Regions from separate parts of the Homo sapiens genome. Here region 2 is linked to region 1. The links are contacts of gene promoters, found by promoter capture Hi-C in human tissues and cell types (Jung and others, 2019). All regions are on one chromosome and are shown on one strand. Each heading gives the region's core, a stretch centred on a gene start or on the middle of the fragment in contact. The rest is flanking DNA. Distances are from core to core; before and after follow the strand shown. Region 1 holds the start of TOMM5 (translocase of outer mitochondrial membrane 5). Region 2 overlaps LOC124902153 (a long non-coding RNA gene).

Evidence for each region. The method cuts DNA at HindIII sites, captures the fragments that hold promoters and counts their contacts. A contact is called where the count stands out against the background at its distance.
Region 2: a contact is called between a fragment that was not itself captured here and the fragment with the promoter of TOMM5 in region 1, in 1 of the 25 tissues and cell types used here (bladder).

Annotation. Positions count from the first base shown.
Region 1 is chr9:37,591,029-37,598,072 of GRCh38, forward strand. It overlaps TOMM5 (translocase of outer mitochondrial membrane 5), which reads right to left and starts at 1,569. Exons shown (of 2, transcript NM_001001790.3): 1 at 1,384-1,569. The coding sequence starts at 1,504. RefSeq lists an enhancer at 1,166-1,925 and silencers at 2,884-3,178, 3,578-3,647. The HindIII fragment of the contact is 28,692 bases long and covers 1-7,044 here.
Region 2 is chr9:37,394,992-37,402,372 of GRCh38, forward strand. It overlaps LOC124902153 (a long non-coding RNA gene), which reads left to right. Exons shown (of 3, transcript XR_007061478.1): 3 at 231-1,421. Among named protein-coding and RNA genes, the nearest start is that of LINC01627, 3.9 kb to the left of the region's middle. RefSeq lists enhancers at 741-1,035, 3,970-4,029. The HindIII fragment of the contact is 4,058 bases long and covers 1,816-5,873 here.

The sequences.
Region 1 (7,044 bases), core at 319-2,818:
AACGAGAAGGCAGGGCATTCGAGAACTGATCATAAAGCTGCTTCCAGTTCTTATATTCAGTGTTCCTATAACTCTGATACCTTCCTTCCTTGCTAAGTCCCCTCTGAAAATCAAGTTCTCATTTGTAAAATGATATAAAGAATCTTAGGCCCTGCCTCCCTCAAAGGTCCACTGTCAAGACTATATAATGGGAGTAACTTCCTGTCAATTTTAAGATATAGAAAAAAAAACCTCAAATATTTGCATTAATCCTATAGACTCATATTCTTTTTTCCCATTTTTTTCCAAAAAACTAATGACTCACTTCACCCTCTATACAAAGAAACAGAAATGAAGCAAAACTTTTTGGATTTCAAAGGTCAGCACTTTTGAAAGGGAAGGAACCCGGCCGCTGGTTCACGCCTGTAATCCCAGCACTTTGGGAGGCTGAGGCAGGTGGATCACCTGAGGTCAGGAGTTCGAGACCGGCCTGGCCAACATGGTTAAACACCCATCTCTACTAAAAATACAAAAATTAGCCGGGCGTGGTGGCGCGCGCCTGTAATCTCAGCTACTTGGGAGGCTGAGGTGGGAGAATGGCTTGAACTCGGGAGGCAGAGGTTGCAGTGAGCCAAGACTGCGCCACTGCACTCCAGCCTGGGCAACAGGGCGTGACTGTGTATCGAGGAAAAAAAAAAAAAAGAAAAGAAAAGAAAGGGAAGGAACCTGGTACTGAGTTAAGAGTTCTGGATTTTAGGTCAAGATCATTCACTGAATCGCTGAGTGACCTTTGGCCAGCCTTCCCAAGAAGGCTGTTTCTTCCTTCTAGAACTATGGTTCTGTTTCTCTGTTTCTCTGTCTGCAAAAACGAGGGAGTTCCTCTAGGGATAATTACTTGAGCTCTTTCAGCTCAAACATTCTTTTTTTTGAGATGGAGTCTTGCTCTGTCACTCAAGCTGGAGTGCAGTGTCGCGATCTCGGCTCACTGCAACCTCCGCCTCCTGGATTCAAGCAATCCTCCCACCTTAGCCTCCCGAGGAGCTGGGATTACAGGCGCCCGCCACCACGAACTCCTGACCCCAAATGATCCGCCCGCCTCGGCTTCACAAAGTGCTGGGTGGGATTACAGGTGTGAGCCAACGCGCCCGGCAGCTCAAACATTCTTCAAGCTGGGAGAACCAGGATGATTAAACACGCGCGCCGGCCACCACGTGCACTTCAGTGCCCGGACCCTGACCCGCAGACCTCAAACCGCGCATATGCCCGTCGCCTTCAACGCGCACCCTCCTTGCTCCCCGCTACCGTTCAGCTCAGTTCGAAGGCCCCGATGACCCCTTAGAGTTAAGGGGTGCCCGTCGGTGAGCTCCCCGCTGGTCTCACAGTCACAGCCCGGGAGACACTCACTGACTCGCAGGAGGGCCACGTAGATGAGAAAGTTCCGTATGGAGGAGATCACATCCTCGCGCATCTTCCGTTTCATCTCCTCCGGGTCCAGCTTCGGCGCGAGGCCCTCAATCCGGAACATCGCGGCTCTGACTTAGCAGCTTCCAGCCGCCGCGCTCTGCTCTCCACGGTGGCCGCCTCGCGCCCGGAACTCGGCCTATCCTCACTTCCTGTTCCCGCCCTCTCGTTGCCACACTCGACGATGGATGCCTGCACGGGACAATCCACGTCCTGACCCAGCTGATCTGAAGTGCGGTGTGAAGCGGGCGGCCGCAAGCTCAGCAACGCAGGCTCTGGTTTCTCCACGCTGTCTTTAATAACATCTGTCATACAAAAATCAGCCCGGCTCGGTGGCGCGTGCTTACAATCCCAGCTACTCGGGAGGCTGAGGCAGGAAAATCGCTTGAACCCAGGAGGGGGATGTTGCAGTTAGCCGAGATCGCGCCACTGCGCTCCAGCCTGGGCGACAGAGCGAGCGAGACTCCGTCTCAAAATAATAATAATAATAATAATAATAACAACAACAATAACATCTATCTTGAGCCTGGAGCGCTGCGCTGTAAAGTGCTTTTACGCGCTGGAGGGGGCTGTGCACATAGGTACCACTGTAAACAGTGATAACTAACATTTATTGAATATTCAATATAATTGTCCCCCGTGAATTCGATATTATAATCTTCGTTTCCTAGATTAGACAATTGAAGCACAGAGATCTTTAAAACATCTTGCCCAAATGTGCTTTAATTTTTATTTATTTTTTTATTGCTAATTGTGGTGGTTGAGACTGTTCTGGAACTCCTGGGTTCCAGGATCCAAGCGATCCTCCCGCCTCGGCCTCCCAAAGTGCTGGGATTACAGGCGTGAGCTATCGCGCCTGGCCCCCAAATGTGCTTAAAAATACCTCAGAGGGGGAAAAAAGTATTGAGAGAGATAAGTGATGTCAGCAAAATATTAAAAACTGCTGGTGACTAGTACTTCATTTTAGTTAATTATTCTAGTCTTTCTTGAGTATGTTTGAAACTTTACATAAGTTAAAACAAAGAGACAAAGATGAAACTTTTTTTTTTTTTTTTTTTTTTTTGGAGACAGAGTCTCGCTCTGCCGCCCAGGCTGGAGTGCAGTGGCGCAATTTCAGCTCACTGCAACCGCTGCTTCCCAGGTTCAAGTGATTCTCCTGCCTCAGCCTCCTGAGTAGCTGGGATTACGGTTGCGCAGCACCACGCCTGGCTAAATTTTGTATTTTTTGTAGAGACGCGGTTTCACCATGTTGGCCAGGCTGGTCTTGGAAACTCCTGATCTCAGGTGATCTGCCCACCTCGGCCCCCAAAAGTGCCGTGATTACAGGCATGAGCCACCGCACCTGGCCTTTTTACAGATTATTGAAGCACAGAGGTCTTTAAAATACTGTTAGCCAAGTAACACAATATGTATAAAGCAAGTTCAAATCTGATCAGCATTTTACAGATGAATAGAAAGAGGCTCAGAAACCAAGTCCAGCTTTGGTGTGAAGCCCTTTATCTGGAACATCGCAGCTGAAGTCTAAAGTGCACTAAAGTCTAGTCATTCTGCTGGTGATGCACGGGCAGGGTTCTAATGCAGATAATTATCATGTCAAGTTGAATTATCTTTCCCCTGCACCCTACTGCTCATCTGTTAGTCTTTAACAGTTAGTGCCCACATGGATGGACATCGCTAGAGTCAAGAGTTTGATGCAACCAGATTTCCTGTCACAGAAGCATCCAAACAGAGTTAGTAGGCTGCTGCCCCAAGTTACGCATGCCAACTAGCCATATCTACTTCTTACACGCAAGCCAGATGACTGAATTGCTCACATAATTCAAAACCAGAATGTTCCTTCTTGACTGCATATTGCATAGCAACAATGGACTTTGGATAAATTAGGACAATAATTTACTATGAGAGCAACTAATAACTATATGCACGGTCAACTTTCTGGTTGACAGAATGTAAGGCACTGGGGCAAGAAAGGGAACTCATCTGCTTATTCCAGCTTTAGCAACCTTTTGCATCTGTAATTCATGCAATGGAATAGCAGAGGCAGCTCTGGAATGGGAGGGGCTGACTCCCAAGGAATAGCCTCCAGCCAACCCTTGGTGAGTGTTTAGAAAGCCTGCAGTGATGTTGAAAGCAGCAAGAACTGCGGAAAGAACATGAACAGGAACACTGGAGACATGGACTCTAGATCTGGCACTGCTGCCAACTAGTGGTGTGATGAGGGACGAGTATCTGATTTCACTGCAACTCCATTTCTTTCTTCTTCTTTATTTATTTATTTATTTATTTATTTTAGACTGAGTTTTGCTCTGTCGCCCAGGCTGGAGTGCAGTGGCGTGATCTTGGCTCACTGCAACCTCTGCCTCCCGGGTTCAAGCGATTCTCCTGCCTCAGCCTCCCGAGTAGCTGGGACTACAGGCGTGTGCCACTACGCTCGGCTAATTTTCTTTTTTCTTTTTTAAGAGATGAAGTTTTGCTCTGTCGCCCAGGTTGGAGTGCAGTGGTGTGATCATAGCGCACTGCAACCTCACACTCCTGGGCTCAAGCAGTCCTTCTCCTGCCTTAGCTTCCTGAGTAGTTGGGACTACTGGCACGTGCCACTACACCTGGTTATTTTTTTCTATTTTGTTAGAAATAGAATATTGCTGTGTTGTCCAGGCTGGTCTCAAACTCCTGGGCTCAAGTAATCCTCTTGCCTCAGTCTCCTGACCGAGGCATGAGCCACTGCACCCAGTTCTTCCATTTGTTTAGTTGGAAAGGGAAGGCATATATTGAGATGCTTTTGAAAGTTTCTTCCAGTTCTAACAGTCTATGCATTTTTTAAAACCACCTATGCATCTTGAATTTTAATTGTGTCATCTAGAACTTTCTGTTATGGAGTGTATGACTTTGAAAATATCATCAAATATGGTCAGACATCAAAATGGTCAGTGTGTGTGTGTGTTCCACGATAGGATGGATGTAAAAATAAGGCATATCTCATCCATCCGAATAGTGAGGCAAAGTGATTGGGAAGGGGTGAGTTCTTGTTACGTGGTTCCAGTAACTTCAACCCCTAATGCTGATAAAATTTAGAAAAACAGCTCACATATGAAACTATCAATTTATTTTCTCTGCAGAGATGCTTTTGAGTAACTTTCATAGGAAATGAAAGACGGGATAAATTAGCCAAAAATAATGTTTCTTGGTGAAAAGAACAGATTTTAAGCATTTGAATTTTATTCCCTAAATTAAAGCAGTACTTTCTTAAATTAATTTTTTGAGACAGGGTCTCGCTATGTTGCCCAGGCTATTCTCAAACTCCTGGGCTCAAGGGATCCTCCTGCCTCAGCCTCCCAAGTAGCTGGGATACAGGCAAGCGCCACCATGCCCAGCTAAAGCAGCACCTTTACACCCGGTAGGTGATATGGTAGCAAACGGCTAGCCTGTTAAAGGGCAGTATTATTTTCATAACAATTTTCTTAAGTCTGGTGCTTGCGTACCTGTAGAGACAGAAGTAGGTAGTGGATAGAAATATGGGGTAGCTAGATCTTGGAGTGAAGAATTGGTGTTGGTTACAGGCTAGGAGGATGACCCATTCCTGTCTCAGATACGTTCCTCCTGGTGAATTCAGTTTTCCCCTTGCATGGTTCATCTAGTTGTAATGAAGGAAACTCATGAAAAGAGATTCGCTTCTCTTTTTTGGCTTTTTAAAAAAGTGCTTATTTATTTGGCATGTAGGTGGTGGTATTGTCCAATGACAGTGGGTTTAGGTGAGGCAAATTGAGAAAATATGCTTCAGGAAGTCAACATTGGATGGAGCTATTTCATATCTTGGACCCCTCATTCTTCCTCAATGATGGGATGATTAGAGGTTGGGTCTAATCTTTAAAGTTGCCCACATTTCTAAAAATGCTGTAATTCTGTGTTCATCTTTCCTGTTCTTCCTACATAACCTTGAACTAAAAGCTAAGAGCAAAGGATTCACTGTGATTTGCCGTGGAAGGCAAAAATAAAAAGTATGCGCGCATAATTTAATATTGATATTTGTATTATTTAGTCTGATCACAGAGGAAATGGGAGCTGATGTCACAGCCTGTCTTGTTTTCCATTTAGATCCCAGGAGGGATTAAAGAGCCATTTCCTTTGCCTCGACTTCCCAGACAGTACAGTACACATCATTCAGAGTGTACAACCTACTCATAAGAGAATTAAGTGCTTTAATTTTCATCACTGGTGAGGAATTTGTATTTGCAAGGTCAGAGATTGACTGATGACTCATGATTGGGGAATAAATCCAACATAAAATCACAGGAAGTTTGTGATTCCTAATTTATAGGGAGCTATATAGGCTTTGAGTATTGAACAGTTCAACCCCTTCATTTGGCAGATGGGGAAACTGAGGCCCAAAGGGACGCTAGTTAGAACTGGCTTGGACTAGGATAGGTCTCTGGGCTCCCAGTTTAGCCCCTTTCCCCATCGTACCTTGTTGGTTTCGATACTTTAACTGTGAATATTCTCATTGACGATCCTCCCCTCAGAAGTAAAGATGAAAAGAATGGAGTGTTGTTAAACCCCAGCTTGGGAGGGACAGGATAAGGGGTGGCTGTTACTCATCAATAGACTACAGGCAGCCCTTCTTTCCACATTGCCTCACCCATCACCAGTTGTTAATCTGGACTGTGTTATTATCCAGTCCCACACCTCTCCTTCCTCATTCCTTCAGGAGGTGAACATGGCCTGGAATTCCTAAAATAAACTTGACTTTAAAGTCCACTCAGAACCAAGATGAATGAAATAAGGGTCAGGACAAAGAAAGGACCCTTGGGCTCTCAGTAAGGATTGTTCCATGATAGATGCTAACCAGAGTCCTCACCTAGCAGAGAGGATAACTTACTTCTAGAAATTACTGCTCACTAAGGGACAGATGCCTCTTTAGGAAGAGGGGACCTTTGAACCTTAAAGGGAGGTAGAATGTTGATAACCTTCACCTCACTGGCATTTGCTTTCTATGACACCCCGTTCTCAGTTCTAACCTTTAGGGCTTTGTTGTCTGGATAATTCATGAATATTTGATCTCTTGCCATGTAGACTGCAAGCACCTCAAGTACAAGGAACATGTCATCGCTCATTCTTTCATCCTCCAAGCAACCGAGGACAGGTATTTACATGGTAGAAACTCAGTAAGTACCCCCAAGTGAATGAGTGAATGAATGCATTTCATATCTACTAGTGTTTAGAATTTAAAAATTGCTGGCTTTGTATATTAGATTGAAAGGAAATTGTCCCCAAAAGAAATTTCCCTCAAATACTACATAGTATTATTATTATTATTTTGACACAGAGTCTTGTTCTGTTGCCCAGGTTGAAGTGCAGTGGCATAATCTCGGCTCACTGCAACCTCTGCCTTCTGAGTTCAAGCAATTCTCCTGCCTCAGCCTCCTGAGTAGCTAGGATTACAAATGTGCACCACCACGCCTGGCTAATTTTTGTATTTTTAGGAGAGATGGGGTTTCACCATGTTGGCCAGGCTGGTCTCGAACACCTGACCTCAAGTGATCCACCCACCTTGGCCTCCCAAAGTGCTGAGATTACAGGCATGAGCCTCCACACCCGACCCTACCTATT
Region 2 (7,381 bases), core at 2,595-5,094, 190 kb before region 1:
TTAATTGTTCCAGAGACTGATGAGTCCCCAAAAGCAGCAAAGGGAAGAGGTTTTTCCACCTTTGGAATAAGGGCTCTGAGTGGGCGCTTCCTGTTCACCCTGTGGGAATAGGGTGGGAATGGAGGGTGGAGAGGAAGATGGTTTCTTGCAATTTAACAGCTTCACAACGGGTTTAGAGAGCATCCCAATGTCTACTCCCAACCCTAACCACACATCTTCACCCCTGCCAGGTCAAAAAATACAGAAAAGAAAGAATCTACCACAGATACCCTTTTATTAGATCAGAAGAGAGAAAGCTTGTAGACGCCTCGTGAACTCACCCCTTCCACTGCGAAGTGCCAGACCCTGGGCTGGACACCGTGGGAGAGGCCAGCTGGGCAAGTCTGTCCTTCGGGGAGGTCTGGGGTGTTTGGGGAAGGGAGATAGGGACACACAATCCTCACAACAACTGCAAAAAGAAGTGTGAGCACGTGGGGGCAGAGGGAGCGTCAGTCAGACGGGAGGTGATCGGGACTGGAGAGAGATGTCCCAGAGGAGGTGGCTTGGGCAGGTGGGCTTTGACTGGCGTCTATGGGAGAGGAGCCCGTAGGAAGAAGAGAGAGCAGGACAGCTGGGATTGAGTTGGGCTGAAGCCGGACCGGGGAGGGTGTGGCAAGAGATGAGGCTGAACCGGTGGGCTGGAGGAGGGGGTCCCAGGAAAAGCAGCTCTGGTCCCACCGTCAGCCCTGCCTTTTATTATTAATCTCTCTTGTGAATTCAGGTGGGAAAAGGCCTGCTGAGAGTAGTGCCAGAATTCACAGGAGAAAGATTCTGTAATTTCTTTGAGCTCTGTGACTCTGGACAAAGTATTCAGTATTAATGCAGTTGACCATGACGTCTTCTGTGTGCGCGACTGACAGACCAAATTACCTTTCCTTATCTCCTGGCGAGAAAAAAGGACCATTTTCTTGACATATTTCATAATCATTTCACCTGCTTGCCCCCTATGGAGAGCGCCGGTGACCCGGCCCCCTCCCCTCCCACACAATGCAGGAAGTATGTCATCTAATAAGCCCAGTTTCTAAAGAATGTTTTTAATCTTGGAATAGTGAGTGTGATTTTTGATTGTATTTTTAATTCTCTATCTACTTTTTTAAAAGCACACGCTTTTGTTCTAATTCTCATCTTAGCTCATCAGGGCCAGGAGGAAGCGTGGACATCTTCCATTCCATGGATCTGCTTAGCATTTGACAGGTGAGGCCCAAAGAGAAGGCATGGGCCAGGACCCCTTAGGGCAGCTGGGGGCACACCAGGAATTCTGGAGTCAGGGCTCTATGCCCTCCATGCCCAGTGGGCACCGTTCTCTAGGTGGTGCCCCAGCCCGGTAACTACAAAACCTCAGAGCATTTTTTTCTAATTGTGGTAAAATACACATAACAAAAAATCTACATCTTAACCTTCATTTTTTTTTTTTTTTTTTTGAGATGAAATTTTGCTCTTGTTGCCCAGGCTGGAGTGCAATGACACGATCTCGGTTCACTGCAACCTCTGCCTCCTGGGTTCAAGAGATTCTCCTGCCTCAGCCTCCCAAATAGCTGGGATTACAGGCACTCGCCACCGCTCACTGCTAATTTTTTGTATTTTTAGTAGAGACGGGATTTCACCATGTTGGCCAGGCTGGTCGCAAATTCCCGACCTCAGGTAATCCACCTGCCTTGGTCTCCCAAAGTGCTGGGATTACAGGCGTGAGCCACTGCACCTGGCCACATGGGAAATATTTATGATATTAAGTATAAAAAGCCGATTGTGGCTGGGCACGGTGGCTCACGCCTGTAATCCCGGCACTTTGGGAGGCCAAGGCAGGTGGATCACGAGGTCAGGAGTTCAAGACCAGCCTGGCCAACATGGTGAAACCCTGTCTCTACTAAAGATACAAAAAAATTAGCTGGGCATCGGGGTGCATGCCTGTAATCCCAGCTACTTGGGAGGCTGAGGCAGGAGAATCGCTTGATTCCGGGAGGTGGAAGTTGCAGTGAGCCAAAATCGTGCCACCGCACTCCAGCCTAGGTGACAGAGCTAGACTGTCTCCAAAAAAAAAAAAAGCAGATTGCGTAGCCAGGTGTGGTAGCACACACCTGTAATCCCAGCACTTTGAGAGGCCAAGGTGGGAGGATCACTTGAGGCCAGGAGTTCAAGACCAGCCTGGGCAACATAGCAAGACTTGATATCTACAAAATATTTAAAAATTAGCCAGGTATAATGGCACATGTCTATAGTCCCAGCTACTCTGGAGACTGAGGCAGGAGGATCACTTAGCCCAGAAGTCTTATGCTGCAGTGAGCCGTGATCGCACTACTGCACTCCAGCCTGGGTGACAGAATAAGACCTTGTCTCTAAAAAATAATAATAATAATTAATTAAATTTTGTAAAAAGCAGGTTGCAAGTTGGTATATATAGAGAATGGCTCCCACTTACATGAGTAAATATGTAAATGTCAGTGGGTATTTGCAAGGATATTTACCACAATTTGACCAATGGTTATTCCTGAGTAGTAGAATTATGGATGGCTTTTTCTATTTTCTTTTTTTAATGAAAAATGAATAAAATAAAAGTTGTCCTGCTAGGGCTACCATAACAAAATACCACAGACTGGACTGGGTGGCTTAAACAATAGAAATTTATTTTCTCACAGTTCTGGAGTCTGGAAGTCCAAGTTCAAGATGCTGGCAGGCTTAGTTCTTCTGAGGCCTCTCTCCTTGGCCTGCCGACAGCCACCTTCTTGCTATGTCTTCCCACGGCCTTTGCCCTGTGCACACGTGTCCCTGGTGTCTTTCTTCTTTTAAGGACATCAGTCATATTGCGTGAGGGTCCCACCCTTGTGACCTCATTTTACCTTAATTACCTCCTTAAAGACCTTGTTTCCATATACAGTCACATTGGGGTTTAGGGCTTCAACCTATGAATTTTGGGGAAACACAATTTAGTCTATAACAAAAGTTAGTTTGAAAAGAAAAAGAAAGTAGGCCGGGCATGGTGGCTCATGCCTGTAATCCCAGGAATTTGGGAGGCCAAGGCGGGCTGATCACTTGAGGTCAGGAGTTCAAGACCATCCTGGCCAACATAGTGAAACCCCATCTCTACTAAATAAATAAATAAATAAATAAATAAATAAATAAATAAATAAATAAATAAATTAGCCAGGCATGGTGGTGAGTACCTGTAGTCCCAGCTACTCAAGAGGCTGAGGCATGAGAATTGCTTGAACCAAGGGGGTGGAGGTTGCTGTGAGCTGAGATGGTACCACTGCACTCCAGCTTGGGCGACAGAGCAAGACTCTGTCTTAAAAAAAGTAAAGCTTGTTAAAGCAGTGCTCTTACAAAAGGACACACACAGTTCTTAGGATGAATTTTGTCAGTTTCACCCAACAGTTAATTTCTGTGCTATGCAACCTTTCCCAGAGCTTAGAAAAAAGTTAAAAATTTTCCAATTAATTTTACACACTTTGCATAACTCCAATACTAAGACTTGATTTTTAAAAGAGCACAAGATAAAGTGTATCTATCTAAAATCAAGAATCAACATCATACTAATGATAAAACACTAAACCCCGTCTAGAGGAGTTTGGATTAGAGTCAGAATGAAGACAAGGGTGTCAGTTAGGTATCAGCAATGCTAGCTGCTGTGAGGAACATAACTCCAAACCTCAATGGCTGAACACAATGGAAGTAAATTACTTGTTTACACAAAGAGCAGTGAGAATCCCTGGTTAGCCAGCTGCCTCCCATGTGGCCATTCAGGGACCTCCACTGCTTGTGCCATCCCCCAGAGCCACTGCCAGCTCCTCTGACGGCAAACAGGAAGAAAGACAGTAGAGGATCTTGTGGGAGGTTTTATGGGCCAACCGGGCAAGGCACCTGTATCACCTCCACCCACAGTCCAGTGGCTAGAACCTGGTCACGCGGCCACTCCTAACTGCAAGGGAGGCTGAGAAATGTTACCTCCTTCCGTGCCCAGCAGGAAAAAGAAACAGGTGACGTTGCAGCATTTCTTGCAGAATACCCCACTGTCGTCTCTGGGACTTTTGTTGACAAATCACTGATGTTTTCTGCACATCCTGATTTGCAGCAGGCAGTGACTACTACCTGAGCACCATCCCAGTTTCAGAGATTAAAAATGTGAAAAACTTGGAGTTGATGAAATACTCGATAGGAATAGTAGGTGAAGCTGTAGGAGATGCTGCGCTTGTAAAAGGCCCACGGATGAGCCAGGGCTTTCCGGGCATAACCCCAAGGCCAAAAACATAAGTGATAGACTAACTATATAAAAACAAAAAAATCCCTTATATCAAAAAAGAACATTGAAAGGAGAAGGGCCCACTGTGGGGGAAATATTTGCAATGTGTGATAGAGAATGAGCAGGCTTGCTATTTAAAGAGCCCTTACAAATCAAGAGTGAAAAAGGTGAAGAAAATGGACAAATAACAGTAACAGGAAATTAATAAAAGAAGAACTAAAAATGGTTAAATATGTTAACTATGTAAAACTATTTAGTAGTCAAAGAAGCACAAATTAAAACTACCATGTAATACCACGTTTTACCATCAGATTGGCAGAGATGTGAAAATTGATAATGGTGTTTGCAAAGACTGGCAAGTAAAGGCTATTAACCCTCTGGAAAGGGAAAGATGGGTGCCCTGTTTACCACTGTGGGTGATACGGTCTTGAAAACACTTATGCCTGTTGACCCAGCAGTCCCACCTCTGGAATTTATCCTAAGGAAACAAATGAAGAGATGTGAAAGACATATGTTCAAGGCTGCTAATCTCAGGGGAGCTTTTAAATTTAACTTTAATTTGTATCAAGTTATACATGCACATGATTTCAAAGGTCAAAAAATTCTACAAGATTTGTTACAAAAATCAGCAATTCCCTGAAGCCACTCCCCCAGTCATGGCCCTGCTCTGCTTTTTCAGTCCCAGAGATACTTTTTTTTTTTTTTTCTTTTTTGAGACAGGGTCTCACTCTGTCTCCCAGGCTGGAGTGCAGTGGCATGATCTCGGCTCACTGTAGCTTCGACCTCCAGGGTACAAGTGATTTTCCCTTCTCAGCCTCCTGAGTAGTGGGAACCACAGGCATGTGCCACCATGCCCAGCTAACTTTTATCATTTATCCTAGACAGGGGTCTCCCTGTGTTGCCCAAGCTGGTCTTGAACTCCTAGGCTCAAGCAGTCCTCCTGCCTTGGCCTCCCAAACTGTTGGGATTGCAAGCATGAGCCACCATACACAGCCTCAGAGATACTATTTCAATCCTTTAAGTATTTAGTGTATTTTCTCTAAATACCATGCTTATATTGCTACTTCTTGATTTTTCAGGTTTATACATTATATAGTGATTTTTCATTATGGAAGGGGAGAATTTGGCTCTCATCAATCACTCACTCACAATACCCCCCACCCTGGAACAAAACGCATATTAATACATGTATTCCCACCCCCCACAGCCTCCCAATATAGTTATTTGTCATTCTGATCAGATCAATATTCGTTATTTGCTTTATTCTGACTGCAAATCTGTTTTCAAGATTTTCAGAGTTAATAATTGTCTTGCTTTTTTTTTTTTTTTTTTTTGAGACAGAATCTCTCTCTGTCCCCCAGACGGGAGTTTAATGGCACAGTCTTGGCTCACTGAAGCCTCCACCTCCCAAGTTCAAGTGATTCTCCTATCTCAGCCTCCTGAGTAGCTGGGACTACAGGCACGCGCCACCAAGCCCAGCTAATTTTTGTACTTTCAGTAGAGATGGGGTTTTGCCATGTTGGCCACACTGGTCTCAAACTCCTGACCTCAGATGATCCACAGCCTCAGCCTCCCAGAGTGCTGGAATTACAGGTGCGAGCCACTCTACCCGGCCCAATTGTCTCGTTTTTACCATTGGCTTGGTTTACTAATTTTCGTCACTAATTTAACTACAAACTCTTTCTTTCAGAATTTTGAACATATTCCTCCATCATGTTCCGGTTCCCACTGACGCTGTTAAAGAATCCAGTGCCATTCGGATCCATGATCCTTTGTATGAAATCCACTTTTTCTCTGCAAACTTGTAGGATATTTTCTTCATGCCAGATACTTGTGTTCTTCAATTCTGGGTTTTTGAAAACAAAATATTTTTAAAATTACTTTCTTCTTTCTTTTTTTTTAGGACAGAGTCTCACTCCGTCGCCCAGGCTAGAGTGCAGTGGTGTGATCCCAGCTCATTGCAGCCTCAAACCCCTAGGCTCAAGTGATTCTCCCACCTCAGCCCCCCAGGTAGCTAGGACTACAGGTGTGTGCCACCAGTCCTGGCTAATTTTTTAATTTTTTTTTTGAAAACACTTATGCCTATTGACCCAGCAGGTGTGTGCCGCTATGCGTGGCTCATTTTTTATTTTATTTTATTTTATTTTATTTATTTTTGCAGAAGCCATTGATACCATCTAGCTAAGCTAGGTTGAAGATACTTTGGACTCGACAATTCTATATTAGGATACATGCCCTAGAACATCTCTCCCGTGCATGCACAAAAAGATATTGATGCCTGTAATCCCAGTGCTTTGGGAGGCCAAGGCAGAACGATCACTTGAGGTAAGAAGTTTGAGACCAGCCTGGGCAACATAACAAGACACTGTTTTTACAAAAAAAAATTAAAAATGAGCCAGGCATAGAGGCATGCACCTGTAGTCTTGGCACTCAGGAGGCTGAGGTGGAAGGATAACATGAGCCCAAGAGTTTGAAGTTACAGTAACTATGATCATGCTGCTGTATTCCAGCCTGGGTGACAGAACAAGACACTGACTTAAAAAAAAAAAAAAAAAAGACATTTACAAGAATGCTATGGCAACGTTGTTTATAAGGACAAATACAAGAGAAAGATATAATAAATACTTATTGACAGGGGAATGAATAAAGATGGCACAGTTATACAAAACATATACAATATTGAGTAAATACACAAGACATATAAGGATGCCATGACATACACAAGACATACACAGCCAGCCATGGTGGCTCACACCTGTAATCCCAGCACTTTGGAAGGCTGAGGCAAGAGGATCACTTGAGCTCAGGAGTTCAAGACCAGCCTGAGCAACATCACAAGACCTTGTCTCTACTTAAAAAAAAAAAAAAAAAAAAAAAAATTGGCCGGGCGCGGTGGCTTACGCCTGTAATCCCAGCACTTTGGGAGGCCAAGGCGGGAGGATCACAAGGTCAGGAGATCGAGACCATCCTGGATAAAATGGTGAAACCCCATCTCTACCAAAAAAAAAAAAAAAACAAAAAAATTAGCTGGGCGTGGTGGCAGGCGCCTATAGTCCCAGCTACTCGGGAGGCTGAGGCAGGAGACTGGCGTGAACCCGGGAGTCGGAG